6 separate regions of the Homo sapiens genome follow, and regions 1, 2, 3, 5 and 6 are each linked to region 4. Evidence: promoter capture Hi-C in human tissues and cell types (Jung and others, 2019). All regions are on one chromosome and are shown on one strand. The core of a region is centred on a gene start or on the middle of the fragment in contact, and the rest is flanking DNA. Distances in the headings are between cores, read along the strand shown. Region 1 overlaps ZNF609 (zinc finger protein 609). Region 2 overlaps ZNF609 (zinc finger protein 609). Region 3 overlaps ZNF609 (zinc finger protein 609). Region 4 holds the start of PPIB (peptidylprolyl isomerase B). Region 5 overlaps ZNF609 (zinc finger protein 609). Region 6 overlaps ZNF609 (zinc finger protein 609).

Region 1 (2,790 bases), core at 38-2,537, 450 kb after region 4:
GGTGATCCACCTGCCTCGGCCTCTTAAAGTGCTGGGATTATAGGCGTGAGCCACTGTGCCCAGCTAGTGACATCTTACTTTCTACACAATCTTATCTGATAATTCTGAATAAATCTGAACATTCATGTACCAACATCCCCAACTACCTTTTTATTTTTGGATAAAACAAAGTTTCTTAGAACTACTGCTGTTATCAGTAGAACTAACTTCCTTCTTGCGTTTTTGTCTGTGAAGGTGAAGATACAAGACTCATTGTGAAGGGGAAAAGGCAAGGTCTATCTCAAATATCTCTTCAATGAATTTCTTTTTTTTTCAGATAGGGTCTCTCATTTTGGTGCTCAGGCTGAAGCGCAGTGGTGCAGTCATAGCTGCTGCCTCATCCTCCTGCCTCAGTCTCCCAAGTAGCTGGGACTATAGGGATGTGCCACCATGCCCAGCTCATTTTTATTTTTTGTAAATATAGACTTTTGCCATGTTGCCCAGGCTGGTCTAGAACTCCTCAGCTCAAGCAATCCTCCCGCCTTGGCCTCCCAGAGTGCTGGGATTACAGGTATAAACCATCACATTTGGCCTTCAGTGTATTTTCTACCTGTAAAGTTATGTTGCAGCCATGAAGATTTTTGTCCATCAGTGCCTCTCATCTGTGAGAGGCAGTTGAAGTAGGTATATAGTTATAATTACTCTTTGTGGGGAGATGAATGACTCTGGCCTTTCTCTATTCTCTCAAGTCCCCATTTCTGTGTCATCTGCCTACCAACATTGAGATCCTTATATATGTTATTAAACTGATATCTTTTTTTTTTTTTTTTTTTTTTTGAGATGGAGTCTCACTCTGTCGCCCAGGCTGGAGTGCAGTGGCGTGATCTCGGCTCACTGCAAGCTCCACCTCCCAGGTTCACGCCATTCTCCTGCCTCAGCTTCCTGAGTAGCTGGGACTACAGGCGCCCGCCACCACACCCGGCTAATTTTTTGTATTTCTAGTAGAGACGGGGTTTCACCGTGTTAGCCAGGATGGTCTCGATCTCCTGACCTTGTGATCCACCCGCCTCAGCCTCCCAAAGTGCTGGGATTACAGGTGTGAGCCACCATGCTTTTTTTTTTTTTTTTTTTTTTTTTGCACTCTGTCGCCCAGGATGGAGTACAATTGTGCAATCTCAGCTCACTGCAACCTCCACCTCCCGGGTTCAGGTGATTCTCATGCCTCAGTCTCCCAAGTAGCTGGGATTACAGGTGCACACCACCATGCCCGGCTAATTTTTTATTTTTAGTAGAGATGGGGTTTCACCATGTTGGCCAGGCTGGTCTTGAACTCCTGGCCTCAGGTGATCCACCTGCCTCAGCCTCCCAAAGTGCTGGGATTACAGGCGTGAGCCACTGCGTCCGGCCTTAAACTGCTATGTAAAGGTAAATTGAGAAGTATCATTTTAGGATGGGCAACGTAGGGAGACTTTGTCTCTACAAAGTTTTTGTTTTTGTTTTTTTTGGAGACAAAATTTCACTGTATTGCCCAGGCTAGTCTCAAACTCCTGGACTCAAACAGTCCTCCCATTTCAGCCTCCCAAAGTGCTAGGATCACAGGCATCAGCCACCATTCCCGGCCAAAAAATTAAAAAAAAAAAAAAATTAGCCTAGCATGGTGGTGCACGTGTAGTCCCAGCTACTTGGGAGGCTGAGGTGGGAGGATTGCTTGAGCCAGAGAGGTTGAGGCTGCAGTGAACCATGATCACCCCCTGCACTCCAGCCTGGACGACAGAGCGAGACCCTGTCTCAAAGAAAAGAGAATTATCGCCAGGCATGTCTGTAATCCCAGCACTTTGGGATGCTGTGGCGGTTGGATCACCTGAGGTCAGGAGTTCGAGACCAGCCTGGCCAACATGACAAAACCCAGTCTCTACTAAAAATAGAAAAATTAGCCAGGCATGGTGGTGGGAGCCTGTAATCCCAGCTACTTGGGAGGCTGAGGTAGGAGAATCGCCTGAATCTGGAAGGCAGAGGTTGTAGTGAGCTGAGATCACGCCATTGCACTCCAGCCTGGGCAACAAGAGTGAAACTCCATCTCAAAAAACAAACAAACAAACAAAAAGTATTAAAAGATAAAGGACATAAAGTGTTGGGAAACTCCAGAGATCTCCTCTTTAAATTCTCTATAAGTCTCTTTTCAAGCTTTTGTTTTGTTGTTTACCTCCCTAGTAAGCTAAGCCCTAGGAGCCATGATGGCACTTCTTAGCATTTCAAAGACTGAGAATTAGCTTAACTTTTGTTGGTGTAGTTATTAAGGCATCTAATGACCTTAACTTTTTAATATTCCTATACCTTATTTTCCCTCTTGGCCCCAATTTCCTGACAATCCCTGCTCTTATATTTTAGGTATATGAAAAGATGGCAAAATGAGTCCTTTTCTGATTTTTTTTTCTCCTTTTTTGAGACAGGGTCTTGCTCTGTTGCACAGGCTAGAGTACAGTGGCACGATCACAGCTCACTGCAGCCTTCACCCCCGGGACAAAACTTTCCTCCTGAAATGGGAAAAGTTCCCTTGTCCCCCTCACAGGGCGTGCAATGGGAGTGTGGCTCACTTCTTCACTGCCCTGCTGCTCAGACCTGTAGGGTAACATACAGAGGGGCAGGCTATGGGGCTCCAACCCCGGCAGTGTCTAGGGGTGAATGCTTACATCTGAAGCCCCAGTGGGTGTGTGTTACAGGGTGCTCTTTTAGTTTAGCTGTCCTTAGGCGGCTTGTGTTAGCTCAATTAGACCCCTGCCTTATCACAAGAACAGAGGGCTTTCTGTATCC
Region 2 (2,884 bases), core at 260-2,759, 420 kb after region 4:
CAGTGAGCTTTGATAGGGCCACTATATTCCAGCCTGGGTGACAGAGAGAGAACTTGTCTCAGAAAAAACAACAAAATTGTGCAGGATCTGGATTTTTTAAAAATTAAAAAAATTTTCATTAAAAATTATAAAACAAAAAAGATTTGCATCTACATTTTGCTATTTTTTTATGTCTTTTTTGTTCCTCTTTCCCTCCATCACAGCCCTCTTTTGTGTTAAATAGATATGTTCTATTGTGTATAGTGTAGGGAGACCCATCTCTACAAAAAATTTAAGAATTAGCTAGAACAGAGAAAACAAAAAGAAGTGATGGTACATGCAAAGAAGTGATGGTACATGCATGCCTATAGTCTCAGCTACTTGGGAGGCTGAGGTGGGAGGATGAGTTGAGCCCAGGAGGTCAAGCTGCAGTCAGTTGTGATTGTTCCATTGCTCTACAGTCTGGGTGATAGAGCAAGACCCTGTCTCAAAAAAAAAAAAAAAAAAAGTAGCCAGACCTACTGGCTCACACCTGAAATCCCAGGTGCGGGAGGCCTAGGCAGGTGGATCATTTGAAGTCAGGGGTTCGATACTAGCCTGGCCAACATGGTGAAACCCTGTCTCTACTAAAAGTACAAAAAAAATTAGGTGTGGTGGTAGGTGCCTGTAGTCCCAGCTACTTGGGAGGGTGAGGCAGGAGAATCACTTAAGCCCAGGAGGCAGAGGTCGCAGTGAGCTGTGATCTTGCTACTGCACTCCAGCCTGGGCGACACAGGAAAACAAACAAACAAAAAAAAAAAACTTGTGTTTTTGTATAGCTCTGTTCCCTTCTTTGTCCTTTGTGCTATTATTGTCATACAAATGACGTATACCCATCAACACATATTATAAATATTGCTTTATGCAGTTGTCTTTTAAGTCAGATATGAGAAAAAAGTTATAAATAAAAAATACATTTATACAGTCTTTTGTATTTACCTACTATGGCAGGTAGGCAGAATACTGCCTCCTCCAAAAAAAATCTATTTCTTATTCCCTGGAACCTGTGAATATGTTACCTTACCTGGCAAAAGAGATTTTATAGATGTGATTAAATTAAGGATTTTGAGGTGGGGGGATTAGCTTAGATTATCCAATGGTTCCAATGTAATCACAAGGGTTCTTGTAAGGGAAGAAGAGGGCAAGAGAGTCAGAGTCAGAGAGAGATTTAAAAATGGTATACTACTTAGTTTGAAGATGGAGGGAGGGGATGAGCCAAGGAATTTAGACAGCCTCCTAAAGCCTAGAAAAAGCAAGAAAAATGGATTATCTCCTAGAGCCTCCACAATGAAATGCAGCCCTGCTGACATCTTAATTTTAGTTCAGAGAGAACCATTTTAGACTTTTGAACTCCAGAACTGTATGATAATAAATTTGCATTGTTTTAAGCCACTGAGTTTATGGTAATAGTTTCTTATTGCTGCTGTCATTTAATACAGCTATGGGGGAGTTAGCTTTACTAACATTCTTTCTTTGTGTGGATTCAAGTTATTGCCTAGTGCCCTGTCATTTCACTTAAAGATTCCCTTTAGTATTTCTTGTAGGGCAGGTCTACTAGCAATGAACTCTCTCAGTTCTTTTCTTTTCTTTTCTTTTCTTTTTTTTTTTTGAGACAGAGTCTCGTTCTGTCGCCTAGGCTGGAGTGTAGTGGTGCAGTCTGCAACCTCTGCCTCCTGGGTTGAAGTGATTCTCCTGCCTCAGCCTCCCGAGTAACTGGGACTACAGGCATACGCCACCATGCCTAGCTAATTTTTGTAGAGATGGGGTTCCACCTTGTTGGCCAGGCTGGTCTCGAACTCCTGACCTGAAGTGATCCTCCCACCGTGGCCTCCCAAAGTGCTAGGATGACAGGCATGAGCCACCACGCCCAGCCTCTCAGTTCTTTTTTATCTGGGAATATCTTAATTTTTCCTTGTTTTTTAATGGATAGTTTTGCTGGATATAGAATTAAATACTCAGCAGTTGACAACTCTGTTTTCTAGTCTTCAATGTCTTCTTTTTTTTTTTTTTTTTTTTTTTTTTTTGAGACAGTCTCGCTCTGTTGCCCAGACAATTTTATTTTTAAATTTTTTTAGAGACGGGGGTCTCACCATATTGCCCAGGCTGGTTCAGTGGCTATTCACAGTTACACTCATAGCACACTGTGACCTTGAACTCCTGGCCTCAAGCTGTCTTCCTGCTTCCTCCTCCTGAGTAGCTGGGACTATATGCATGTCACCATCCTGGCCTAGCCTTCACTTTCTGCTTGTGCAGAGCTTCAAGGTCAACCGGAGGTGAGAGTTTAGGGCCTTCTCAGTACTTTACTGAGCGTGGCCTCAGCCCTGGGCATGTATACGTCCTTGTGCATACATGTGGCTTGCTTTTTTTAAAGATTTTCTTCTACTCTCAGACAATCTAGAAAACATACGGCTTTCTAGATTTCCAGGAAAGCCCTGTGAACATGTCCTTCCCCAGCTTTTCCTTTTAAGTTTTTTTGGTCAGGCAGCCACAAAGTTAAGCACTTCCCTATATTTTTCACAAATACTCCTACCTCCCAGGGAAAAGGCTTTTTATGCTGGGTAAGCTCTGAGTCTGGTCAGATATAGATAACCTTGCAAGTGGGGCCTTCCAGGGAACCACCGGAAAGGTCAAATAATGATAATTCCCTGGGAATGAAGCTTCACAGGCACGCCAACCCTGTTCTGCCCCATCTAGTGATTGTCAAGCTGCTGCTTTTTCACTGTGATTGCAGGCTTTTGATTTTTCAGAGCAGGAGATGGGAGTAGGGCAAGTTAAGGTGCTAACAAAGCTCAATGTTTCTTACTGATATTCAGGCGTTTTGCTTGAATAAATGCTCTTAGATTGTTGTAAGCCTTTGGTGTTAATT
Region 3 (2,784 bases), core at 38-2,537, 480 kb after region 4:
CATGAGTATTTATAGCATGGCAAAAGCATTCTCTCTAATAATTTGCATTGCAGCAACAAATTTGGAGCTAAAATACAGGTTTTTGGTTTGTTTTTGTTTTTATTTTTTTGAAACAGAGTCTCGTTCTGTCACCCAGGTTGGAGTGCAGTGGTGCAATCATGGCTCACTGCGGCCTCCAACTCCTGGGCTCAAGCAACCCTCTCACCTCAACTTCTCAAGTAGCTGGAACCACAGGCGTGTACCACCATGTCTGGCTAACTTTTTTTTTCTTTTGTAGAGACTAGGTCTCGCTGTGTTGACCAGACTGGTTTCAAGCTCCTGTCCTCAAGTGATCCTCCTGCCTTGGTCTCCCAAAGTGCTGAGATTACAGGTGTGAGCCACCACGCCCAGCCAGTATGACAGTTTAAAAAAAAAAGTTTGACCAGACACAGTGACTCACACTTGTCATCCTAGCAATTTGGGAGGCCAAGGTGGGAGGATTACTTGAGCCCAGGAGTTCGAGACCAGCCTCTGCAACACTATGAGACCTCTTCTCTACCAAAAATCAAAAAAATTAGCCAGGCAAGTGGCACACTCCCGTAGTCCCAGCTACTTAGGAGGCTGAAGCAGGAGGATCTCTCGAATCTGGGAGATCGAGGCTGCAGTGAGCCCTGACTGTGCCACTGCACTCTAGCCTGGGTGACAGAGCAAGACCCTGTCTCAAAAAATAATTATTATTATAATGGTTTTCATTTTCTGTAAATCTAAAATTTTTTTAAATGGTTTTCAGATAACAACTATGCACCAATTTAAGAAGAAAATCTTAGCTAGTACGTAACCACACATGGTCTAATTCTTTCTAGTTTCTTCATTTCTGGAGGCAACTCACTCTTGGAAGTTTCTGAATATATTTACCCTTTCTCTACATCTCTGGTTTGAACTTTCATCCTGGAGGAAATAGCGCTCATAAATGCACATACTCTCTAATCACATGTCAAAGTTAATTATTAGACAGTAACATACCAGAGATCAGCTGTGGGAAGGAAACAATTTCTACATTCTCCCATCTGAGGCTTCTGCAGAGGTAGTAGCATGTAGAGTTCCATACCAGCCTTCCTCACAGGCATCCTCTTGCAACTCTCCCTCAGCTCTCAGTCCTACCAATTTCCTGCAACATTCCTTGCTGCAGGCGTGAGCCACCACACCTGGCCAGAAACTATAATTTATTTACTTTCATACGATCTGTTTCTCCACCTCAACCTCTAAAGAGAACTAGAAAACTGGAGTGGGAAAACTTTAGAAAACTACTAGTACTGACTGGGAGTTGAGGTATTGGTTGTAGCTGCATCTTCCTCCTTGCCCTTACTCCGAACATCAGTAAACAAATATGTCTGTCATTCTCCTTTAGAAATAAAAATAGGAACTACATAGACACCATTAACAGGTTTTTGATCATTTAGTGGTGGTTAAAAGGACCTTTGGCCATTATAAGAGGTCTAGAGAGAGTAAAGAGGACTTTACTAGGAAAGCAAAGAGAAGACCATAACTGAAGGCATATTCAACTTCTAGAGAATAGGACCAAATTGAACAACAATTTGGCACCAGTGTAAAGTGTGTCAGCAACAATTATTAATATTTATTGTTAACTATTCATACTAGCACTGGACATTAGGCTTAACACTTACTATTTTTCTGACCAAGCTAAGGAAATACAACTTTCAAGGGAACAAGGTAACAAAGTAGGCCAGGTGTGGTGGCTCATGCCTGTAATCCCTGCACTTTGGGAGGCTGAGGCAAGAGGATCACTTGAACCCAGGAGTTTTAGACCAACCTGGGCAACATAGCAAGACCCCTTCTCTATCAAAAAAAAAATTTTTTTTTAATTAGCTGGACATGGTAGTATGTACCTGTAATCCCAGCTACTCAGGAAACTGAGGTGGGAGGATCACTTGAGCCCAGGAGGTCATGGCTACAGTGAGCCATGATCTTGCCGGTATACTCTAACCTGGGCAACAGAGCAAGACCCTGTCTCAAAATATATGTGGGAACAAGCTTTTTATTTGTATTATTTATTTATTTTAAACAACAACATCTTGTCCAAGACAAATTTTTTTTAAAAAGAGGAAAAGAATAAAGAAAAAGAAGGCCAAGGCCAATGGCTCACACCTATAATCCCAGTACTTTGGGAAGACTGCTTTAAGCCAAATTCAAGACCAGCCTGGTCAACATATAGCAAGACCTCATCTCTACAAAAAAAAATTTAAAAATTAGCTGGGCATGATGGTGTGTGCCTCTAGTCCTTGCTACTCAGGAAGCTGAGGAGGGAGGATCACTTGAGCCAAGGAGTGTGAGGTTACAGTGAGCTATGATCACATCACTGCACTCCAGTCTAGGCGACAAGAGTGAGACCCTGTGTCAATAAAAAACAAAAAGAAAAATAATAAAAAGAATCAGAGGTCTTTAAAATATAACAGATGATGGATCCAGTGTTACATACCTAAGTATACCTTTACCAGAGCTTCTGCCTTGATATGTGAGTCTGAGGGTTCAACTGTAAATTGCAGAAAACTTATAAAATGGTTTGGTGCCCAAGGACTGTTGCTAAGTCTTGCATGTAAGTCCAAAGTGGATACTATCCAAGTGACCTGCAATGCCATCCATAGATGGTGGGCAAAATTGATGGATGAGCTCTTGATCCAATGGGTAGCTTTGTTTTTATTATACATGTCTTTGGACCAGGCAATCATCTACTAAGTCACATTATAATAAGAAGAGGAGTATGAATGCTTAAAACAGACTTTGTTA
Region 4 (2,700 bases), core at 29-2,528:
GCGGGGGTAGAGACAGGGTCTTGCTATGTTGCTCAGGTTGGCCTTGAACTCCTGGGCTCAAGCAATCCTCCTACTTTGGCCTCCAAAAGTGCTGGGATTTTAAGTGTGAGCCACTGTGCCTGGTCAGGGCCCCATTACTCTTAAGAAAGGGCAATACTGTGTTCCCAGGGCAACAGGCAGTCGGTGCTCAGTGAGGTCCACGCTACAGATCGGCTGAACTCTGCAGGTCAGTTTGCTGCCATCCCCAGTGCCAATTTCACTTCATGTGAGTTGACTACCCCTGCTCCAGCCACTTACCTCTCCTGTAGCTAAGGCCACAAAATTATCCACTGTTTTTGGAACAGTCTTTCCGAAGAGACCAAAGATCACCCGGCCTACATCTTCATCTCCAATTCGTAGGTCAAAATACACCTGAGGAAAGAGACCATTTCCAACTTAGCTTCTTTAAAGGGGCGTTGCTAGGGGAGGGAAGGTACAAGAAGCTAACCTGAGGATGGGAGAGAGAATAGAGCCATATTTTTAGAGAAGTGGTTCTGAATCTGATTTTGGTGACGGTAAAAATCCTATGAGAATCTAATGAAAGCTCCAGACCCTTTTCTTGGAAAACATGCTTATCTATACCCTCCTTGGACTACAGGATAACAATATTTGCTCTAAACAGCTAATGGACCCAGATTCTAAAAATTAACATTAGAAAACCCATAAGGAGCGGAGCCTAAGTTCACCACTTAAGTTTGAAGTATACATACTGTGCTTTGTAATTGGAAGTGGCTAAAATTTGGCTTAAGGAGAGAAAGGATTCGGAATCCGGCAGGCGTGATCTTTCACCATCTCCCCAGCACTGAGGGGTGTTTGCAAAAAGCCTGCTCTGAGACTGCCAGTGTCGGCCCCAGATGGGTATCCGGGGATCCAACTAACTCCCTGGGTCAGGGCAGGGGCTGGGGGTGTCGGGGTGGGTCCGGGTCGTTCCCTGGACTGAATGGGCAGGACGGCCCAGACGCCACGAGGCCACAGACAGAAGCCGAGGGAGGAGGGGCTGAGCCAAGGCCAAGCCAAGGCCGCCCGGGCCCGAGCTCCGGCACCGTAAATGCCGCGGACTCCACCGGACCTTGACGGTGACTTTGGGCCCCTTCTTCTTCTCATCGGCCGCAGAAGGTCCCGGCAGCAGCAGGAAGAAGACGGACCCCGCGATGAGGGCGGCGGCAAGGAGCACCTTCATGTTGCGTTCGGAGAGGCGCAGCATCCACAGGCGGAGGCGAAAGCAGCCCGGACAGCTGAGGCCGGAAGAGGGTGGGGCCGCGGTGGCTAGGGAGCCGGCGCCGCCACGCGCGGGTGGGGGGGACTGGGGTTGCTCGCGGGCTCCGGGCGGGCGGCGGGCGCCGTTTCCCCCCTCCGGCTCGGCGCCGGATAGTAGGTCCCCCTGCGGGGCGGGCACCGACGCGGGCTCGTGGGTGGTTGCCACGTTATTGCTCCCTCATTGGGCTCCCGGCCGCCCTCTCCCGCCCACAGGAAGGCCACCGGCGGAAGGCGGCCTCGCAGAGCACGGGCCCGGGCTCCGAGAAGACCACAAGCCCCGGCATGCTCCGCGGCCCGCCCCGCCCGGAGCGCTGTTCCACTGGCCTGCGGTAGCTGGCGCTTGAGGTTAGCAAATACGTGGGCCTGGACAAGGGGCACGGGAAGCTTGTCACTGTTTTGGGCCAGTCAAGTGTTTGTCACCGCCAAATTGGCTCTAAACGTTGTGGCTTCCAAACACTTCAGGGACATTTATCCTTACCGAGCGTGGCCTTGTACGGCTCCTCCACTTGTCTTGCAAAACTTGCTGCACAACCCACTTCCTTTTTTACTGAGGCCGTCAAGTTACTACCCATTTTTCTCTCCCTTCTGTAATCTTGCTGTGCTTACTGTTGTGTATATCAATGGACATCTTATTGTATACGCTGTTCTTAACTTCCTTTACCTTTTCCCCCAATAGACTACATTTTTTTTTTTTTCTGCGGAAGGGACTGTGTTGCATTTACTCTGTCCACAGCTCCCTCACAGCGCGGCAGTACTGAGTGCCCAACAAGTCCTGGTTGGGATAGCTTCACATCCGCACTGACATGAGAAATAATTTATGCCACGGCCTGAGGATACAATGCCTTTTTCCGGAGGTCAGGAATAGTTACTAGATGTCCCCACAGGGCTATTTTAGGTCTTCACACACTTAGTGTTGTCCCAATCTACAACATAGATACTTTGGTACTGGGAGTCTTACACACCAAAACAAACCAAAACACAAACTTCCAAAATTTGGACCTATGGCGTTAAAACGTCTTTAAAACTAATTTTCAACGATTAACTTCGTAGAAATTCCAGGTCGTCACAGCACAGATTATAGGCAGGGCTCCATTTACATAAATTATGCAATGTAGTCTTCATGAGGCGCTGACCTGAGACTGAAGTTATGCAAGGCCACTGGCATTAACTTTGTTGTTCATTACAGCGGCCTTACACAGGTTGTAGAGCTTCAAGACAGTTCTCTTATTTCCCATCCTTGCACCTCAATTCAGACAACCCCAATCAGGAGGAAGTTTTAAACATTGTTATACTGACAAAGATGATCTTCCAGATCCATCTCTCATCCCTTTTTTTTTTTTTTCTCCTATTTTGTTAAGCCTCTTTCTTCACTCACTGGTCTCAGGCTGCCATAGCCAGAGAAAA
Region 5 (2,770 bases), core at 43-2,542, 350 kb after region 4:
TCACAGAAGAAAAGATCGACTTGTTTAGAAACCAAGTTAGGTAGGGCTGTCTGTAGTTGGTAGTAAATTATCAACCTGAAGTGGCATTCAGGCCAGAGAAAAGTCAGGGAAGATAGTTGGAAAATAAAACCCCAATGACTTTTTCATATTTGACTAAAATTTTCAGATCTCTTATTGTTCTTATTCCTTAGTCATATTTCACCCTCCTTCCTGTTTTATATCTAATAACCTGAAGCAGAAAAGGGCCAGGCCAATCCTACTTTAATCTCTTCCATTCCCCTGCCCCCCTGGAGTATATTTTTTAATTTTTAAAATTTATTTGTATTTGTTTTTCGTTTATTCAGTCTTGCTGAGTTAAGCAGAAACCTCATAGAGGTGGGGTTTTTTTGTTTGTTTTTGCTTTGTTTTGAGACAGAGTCTTGCTCTGTTGCCCAGGCTGGAGTGCAATGGCACGATCTCGTCTCACTGCAAGCTCTCCGCCTCCTGAGTTCAAGAGATTCTCCTGCCACAGCCTCCCAAGTAGTTGGGATGACAGGCATGCGCCACCACCCACACCCGGCTAATTTTTGTATTTTTGGTAGAGATGGGGTTTCACCATGTCGCCCAGGCTGGTCTCAAACTCTTAAGCTCAAATGATCCTCCTGCCTCAATCCTCCAAAGTGTTGGATTACAGGTGTGAGCCACCATGCCCACCCAAATAATACTTTTAAAGAAAACTTAGATTTTATTGTGGTGCCACTATATACTGGGCATTTATTAAGAATATATATATATTTTTAATCTTGTATTGATCTTATCTTAGGGATGGTTCCTTATAATTGCATTTATCCTTCTTATGTGTTTCTGTATCTTTCAGAACCATTTCCAGAATTAATCAGGCTACCGAACAATAAGTCCAGTCTTAGCTTATCAACTCTCAGGATGATTCTGATTTTAAAAATTTTCACCAGGTTCCAGCAGTCCCTTATACTATATCAATTTCTTCTCTCCTTAACCCCTACTCCGGAAACTTTTTACTTGATAATGTTTGTCTGGCTCTTCCTTATTTAATTGCGAGTTTTAAGCTTCTTGCTTTAAAAATATAGCATTAGCTGATTTTAAAATTACCTCTGGGCTGGGTACGCTGGCTCACTCCTATAAACCCAGCACTTTGGGAGGCCAAAGCACGTGGATCACCTGAGGTCAGGAGTTCAAGACCAGCCTGGTCAACATGGTGAAACTCCATGTCTACTAAAAAATACAAAAATTAGCTGGGTGTAGTGGTGCATGCCTGTAGTCCAAGCTTCTCAGGAAGCTGAGGCAGGAGAATCACTTGAACCCGGGAAGTGGAGGCTGCAGTGAGCCGAGATCATGCCACTGCATTCCAGCCTAGGTGACAGAGGGGGATTCTGTCTCAAACAAAACAAAACAAAATTCCCTGTGATTCAACAGATCCTATATGGGATGCTTTATAACAAAATTAATGTTTTTCTGGACTTACAGGTTGGAGGGCTATCCTAGTCAAGCAGTTCAAATTTATGGATACTCATTCAGTTCATCCAACAAATAATTATTAAATAACTACCATGTGCTATACAGTGTGCTGGCACTTAGGATAAAGAGTTGAAGCCAGGCATGGTGGCTCACACCTGTAGTCCCAGCTACTTGGAAGGCTGAGGTGGGAAGTTCCTGTGAGCCCAGGAGTTCAAGTCCAGCTGGGACAACATAGCAAGATCCCATCTAAAAAAATAAAAGTTAAATGGATGTGGTCTCTGCTCTGTGGAGTGTGTGTATATATATGATATATAAATAAAAATTATACATATATATTATTATTATTATTTTTAGACACTCTGTCACCCAGGCTGGAGTACAGTGGCACAATCTTGGCCCACTATAACCTCTGCCTCCTGGGCTCAAGTGATCCTCCCAACTCAGCCTCCCAAGTATCTAGGACTACAGGTGCGTGCCACCACACCTGACCAATTTTGGATTTTTTGTCGAGACAGGGTTTCACCATGTTGCCCAGGCTCACCACGTTGAACCCCTGGGCTCAAGTGATCCACCCGCCATGGCCTCCCAAAGTGCTGGGATTACAAGCGTGAGCCATCGTGCTGGGTTCCTGGAGTTTATATTCTAATGTGGGAGACAGATAAATTGGTTATTATAACAAACTTTGATGAGTAATGATAACATAGGGTATTGTGGGTGCACAGTGGTGGCCAGAGTATAGTGTAGGATCAAGGAAGATCTCTGCTCAAAAGAGGTGATGGAGATCTCTAACCTCTCTGATAGTTAAACAGAGACCCAAAGGGATAAGCAGGAATTAGACAGGTGATGGGAGAGAGGGCAAAAGGCTTGTGCCAGGTGAGAGAATAGCATAATCAAAGGCTAAGTGGTAAGACTAATCTTGAGGCATGAGAAGAACTGGAAGAAGTTCACTATGACTGGAGGAGGAGGAATAGAATGGTAAGATGAGGCTGGAGTGCTATGGGGTCAGATAGTAGAAGGCCTTAAAAGCCTTGTTAAAGGATTTGGATTTCATCCTAACATCTGCAGAAAACTATTGTTAGACTTTTTAGTGGATTACAGTGATTGATTTTTGAGTTTTTGAAGAATTACTCTTGATGTCATCTGCAGAGTGGATTGGAGAACAAGATTGGAGGCATTTAGGAAGCTGTTAGCATAGTTAGCAAGACAGCTGGACCAGAATAGTATTAATAGGAAAGGAGCAAAGTGGGTAGATTTGAGAGAATAGAAGTTCAATTGATAGCATCTTGGTAATTGATAC
Region 6 (2,830 bases), core at 113-2,612, 390 kb after region 4:
AAATCAAATGCTTTTCTTTACAAGTCGATGAATCAATAGACTCTAGTGAATGTGCTCAGTTAATAGAACTGCTTAGGCTGGGCTAGGTGGCTCATGTCTGTAATCCTAACACTTTGGGAGCCTCTGGTAGGCAGATTGCTGGAGCCTAGGAATTCAAGACCAGCCTGGACAACATGGCAAAACCCATCTCTACAAAAGACAAACAAAAACAAAAATTACTTGGGCATAGTAGTATGTGCCTATATTCCCAGCTACTTGGGAGGCTAAAGTAGGACTTGAGCTCAGGAGGTTGAGGCTGCAGTGAGCTGTGATCTTGTCACTGCACTTTAGCCTGGGCAACAGAACAAGATCCTGTCTTTAAAAAAAAGAAAGAAAGAATAATAAACTGCTTACAGCCCTTGAAGAGAAATTCTTAGAGAGTTATTTGTTCTGCATATATGTCAAAACAACCTACTTGAGATGAAATATTCAAAATTATAAATGAAATCTTTTAAAAAAGATGATACAGAAATCTTTCTTCTGTTCATGTAGTGGTAATGCTGGTGCAAAGATGGGTATATGGATATAAAGGCTTCATGTCAAGAGTTCACCTGAAAACCCTGAAATTTAGGCACATGAATTTTTTTTATTCCGTTTTGCATAGGAGAAATTCAGTTTTGCCTGTAGGTCTAAATTCCACATTAAATTTTATTTTCAAAATGGTGAATCTAATAATAATAAGTACTTAAAAATAAAATAGTACCCACTGTGTTTCAAGACTGTTTTTGTTTGTTTGTTTTGGTTTTGGTTTGGTTTGGTTTTTTTGAGACGGAGTTTAGCTCTTGTAGTCCAAGCTGGAGTGCAATGGCGCAATCTTGGCTTACCACAACCTCCGCCTCCCGGGTTCAAGCAATTCTCCTGCCTCAGCCTCCAGAGTAGCTGGGATTACAGGTGCACACCACCTCGCCCGGCTAATCTTTTTTTGTATTTTTAGTAGAAACAGGGTTTCACCATGTTTCAACAGCTAGGCTGATCCACCCACCAAGGCCTCCCAAAGTGCTGGGATTACAGGCATGAGCCACCGTGCCAAGACTGTTGTAAGAAGTGTATGTATATTTACTAATTTAATCCTCACAGTTAATGATGTAGGTACTATTAATATCATCCCCATCTACAGCTGAGGAAACTGAGACATAGAGCAGTTAGGTTATTTTCCCAAGGTTACATTGGCAGAGCCAAAATTCAAAGCCAGGTAATCTGGCTTCAGAGTCTGTACTCGTGTGTGTGTGTGTGAGTGAGAGAGAGAGGGAGACAGGGAGAAAGAAAGAAAACACAAATAACATAAAATTTACCATCTTAACCATTGATTTTTGGTCCATGTTTTTTATTTTTCATTTTTGGGCTTAATTTAATTTATTTTTGAGATGGGATCTCACTCTGTCATCCAGGTTGGAGAGCAGTGGTGCAATCACAGCTCATTGCAGCTTCAGTCTCCTGTACCCAAGTGATCCTCCTACATTAGTCGCCCAAGTAGTTGAAACTACAGGTATCTGTCACCACGCCAAACTAATTTTTTTCTTTTCTTCATGTTTTTTTAAGAGACAAGGGTCTTGCTATATTGCCCAGGCTGGAGTGCCATCACAGCTCACTGCAGCCTCTACTTCCCTCAATGGATCCTCTCACCTCAGCCTCCCAAGTAGCTAGGGCTACAGGCATGCACCACCACACCCAGCTAATTTTTTTCTGTTTTTTTGTAGAAATGGGGTCTCACAGTGTTGTCTAGGTTGGTCTTGAAATCCTTGGCTCAAGTGATCCACCCACCTCAGCCTCCCAAAGTGCTGGGATTACAGGCATGAGCTGCTGTGCCCAGCTGTGTATCTTCTTTGTAGAAATATCTATTCAAGTGTTTTGCCCAGGTTTGAATTGGGGTTTGTTGTTGTTATTGTTGTTGTTGTTGTTGTTGTTGTTAAATTGTGGGAGTTCTTTATATATTTTGGATATTAATCTCTTATTAGATGTATGATTTGCAGGCCAGGTATGGTGGCTCATGCCTCTAATCCCAGCACTCTGGGAAGCCAAGGCAGGAAGATTGCTTGATGCCAGGAGTTTAAAACCAGCCTGGGCAACATAGCAAGACCCTGTTTTTAAAAATAAATAATTAAAAAAAAAAAGAGGAATAGATGACCAGGCACAGTGACTCATGCCTGTAATCCCAGCACTTTGGGAGGCCAAGGTGGGCGGATCACCTGAGGTCACCAGCCTGACCAACATGACGAAACCCTGTCTCTACTAAAAATACAAAAATTAGCTGGGTGTGGTGGCACATGCCTGTAATCCCAGCTACTTGAGAGGCCGAGACAGGAGAATCGCTTGAACCCAGGCAGTGGAAATTGCAGTGAGCCGATGATCGTGCCACTGCACTCCAGCCTGGGTGACACAGTGAGACTCTGTCTCGGGAAAAAAAAAAAAAAAAAGAAACATGATTTGCAAATATTTTCTCCCATTCTGTAGGTTGTCTTCTTAGTCTTCTCATGCATAAGTTTTCAGTTTTGATGAAGTCCAGTTTATCTATTTTAACATTTGTTACCTGTACTTTTTGGTGTCTTAGTCAAGAAATCACTGCCAATCCAATGTCAGGAAGCTTTTCCTGTATGTTTTTCTCTAAGAGTTTTATAATTTTAGCTTCTACATTTAGGATGGTCCCTTTTTTTTGTTTGTTTTGAGGTGAAGTCTCACTATGTTGCCCAGGCTGGACTCACAACTCCTAGGCTCAAGCAGTACTCCCACCTCGGACTCCTGAATATCTGGGACTATAGGCATGCACTCTGCCCAGCTGGTTCATTTTGAATTA

Evidence for each region. The method cuts DNA at HindIII sites, captures the fragments that hold promoters and counts their contacts. A contact is called where the count stands out against the background at its distance.
Region 1: a fragment that was not itself captured here is called in contact with the fragment with the promoter of PPIB in region 4 in 1 of the 25 tissues and cell types used here (aorta).
Region 2: a fragment that was not itself captured here is called in contact with the fragment with the promoter of PPIB in region 4 in 1 of the 25 tissues and cell types used here (stomach).
Region 3: a contact is called between a fragment that was not itself captured here and the fragment with the promoter of PPIB in region 4, in 1 of the 25 tissues and cell types used here (lymphoblastoid cells).
Region 5: a contact is called between a fragment that was not itself captured here and the fragment with the promoter of PPIB in region 4, in 1 of the 25 tissues and cell types used here (lymphoblastoid cells).
Region 6: a fragment that was not itself captured here is called in contact with the fragment with the promoter of PPIB in region 4 in 1 of the 25 tissues and cell types used here (mesenchymal stem cells).

The regions. Positions count from the first base shown.
Region 1 is chr15:64,615,722-64,618,511 of GRCh38, forward strand. All of the region lies in intron 2 of ZNF609 (zinc finger protein 609), which reads left to right. All of the region lies in intron 3 of LOC101930091 (a long non-coding RNA gene), which reads right to left. Among named protein-coding and RNA genes, the nearest start is that of OAZ2, 86 kb to the right of the region's middle. RefSeq lists an enhancer at 1,906-2,498. The HindIII fragment of the contact is 4,834 bases long and covers 1-2,790 here.
Region 2 is chr15:64,578,942-64,581,825 of GRCh38, forward strand. The region is part of intron 2 of ZNF609 (zinc finger protein 609); the gene reads left to right. The region is part of intron 4 of LOC101930091 (a long non-coding RNA gene); the gene reads right to left. Among named protein-coding and RNA genes, the nearest start is that of ZNF609, 120 kb to the left of the region's middle. The HindIII fragment of the contact is 4,653 bases long and covers 1-2,884 here.
Region 3 is chr15:64,642,093-64,644,876 of GRCh38, forward strand. All of the region lies in intron 3 of ZNF609 (zinc finger protein 609), which reads left to right. Among named protein-coding and RNA genes, the nearest start is that of OAZ2, 60 kb to the right of the region's middle. The HindIII fragment of the contact is 6,546 bases long and covers 1-2,784 here.
Region 4 is chr15:64,161,744-64,164,443 of GRCh38, forward strand. PPIB (peptidylprolyl isomerase B) reads right to left here and starts at 1,279. Exons shown (of 5, transcript NM_000942.5): 1 at 1,109-1,279; 2 at 298-411. The coding sequence starts at 1,243. RefSeq lists enhancers at 1-402, 636-1,136, 944-1,193, 1,137-1,637, 1,744-1,793 and a silencer at 1,244-1,603. The HindIII fragment of the contact is 5,042 bases long and covers 180-2,700 here.
Region 5 is chr15:64,515,982-64,518,751 of GRCh38, forward strand. The region is part of intron 2 of ZNF609 (zinc finger protein 609); the gene reads left to right. Among named protein-coding and RNA genes, the nearest start is that of ZNF609, 57 kb to the left of the region's middle. The HindIII fragment of the contact is 5,470 bases long and covers 1-2,770 here.
Region 6 is chr15:64,548,404-64,551,233 of GRCh38, forward strand. The region is part of intron 2 of ZNF609 (zinc finger protein 609); the gene reads left to right. The region is part of intron 4 of LOC101930091 (a long non-coding RNA gene); the gene reads right to left. Among named protein-coding and RNA genes, the nearest start is that of ZNF609, 89 kb to the left of the region's middle. The HindIII fragment of the contact is 3,265 bases long and covers 1-2,830 here.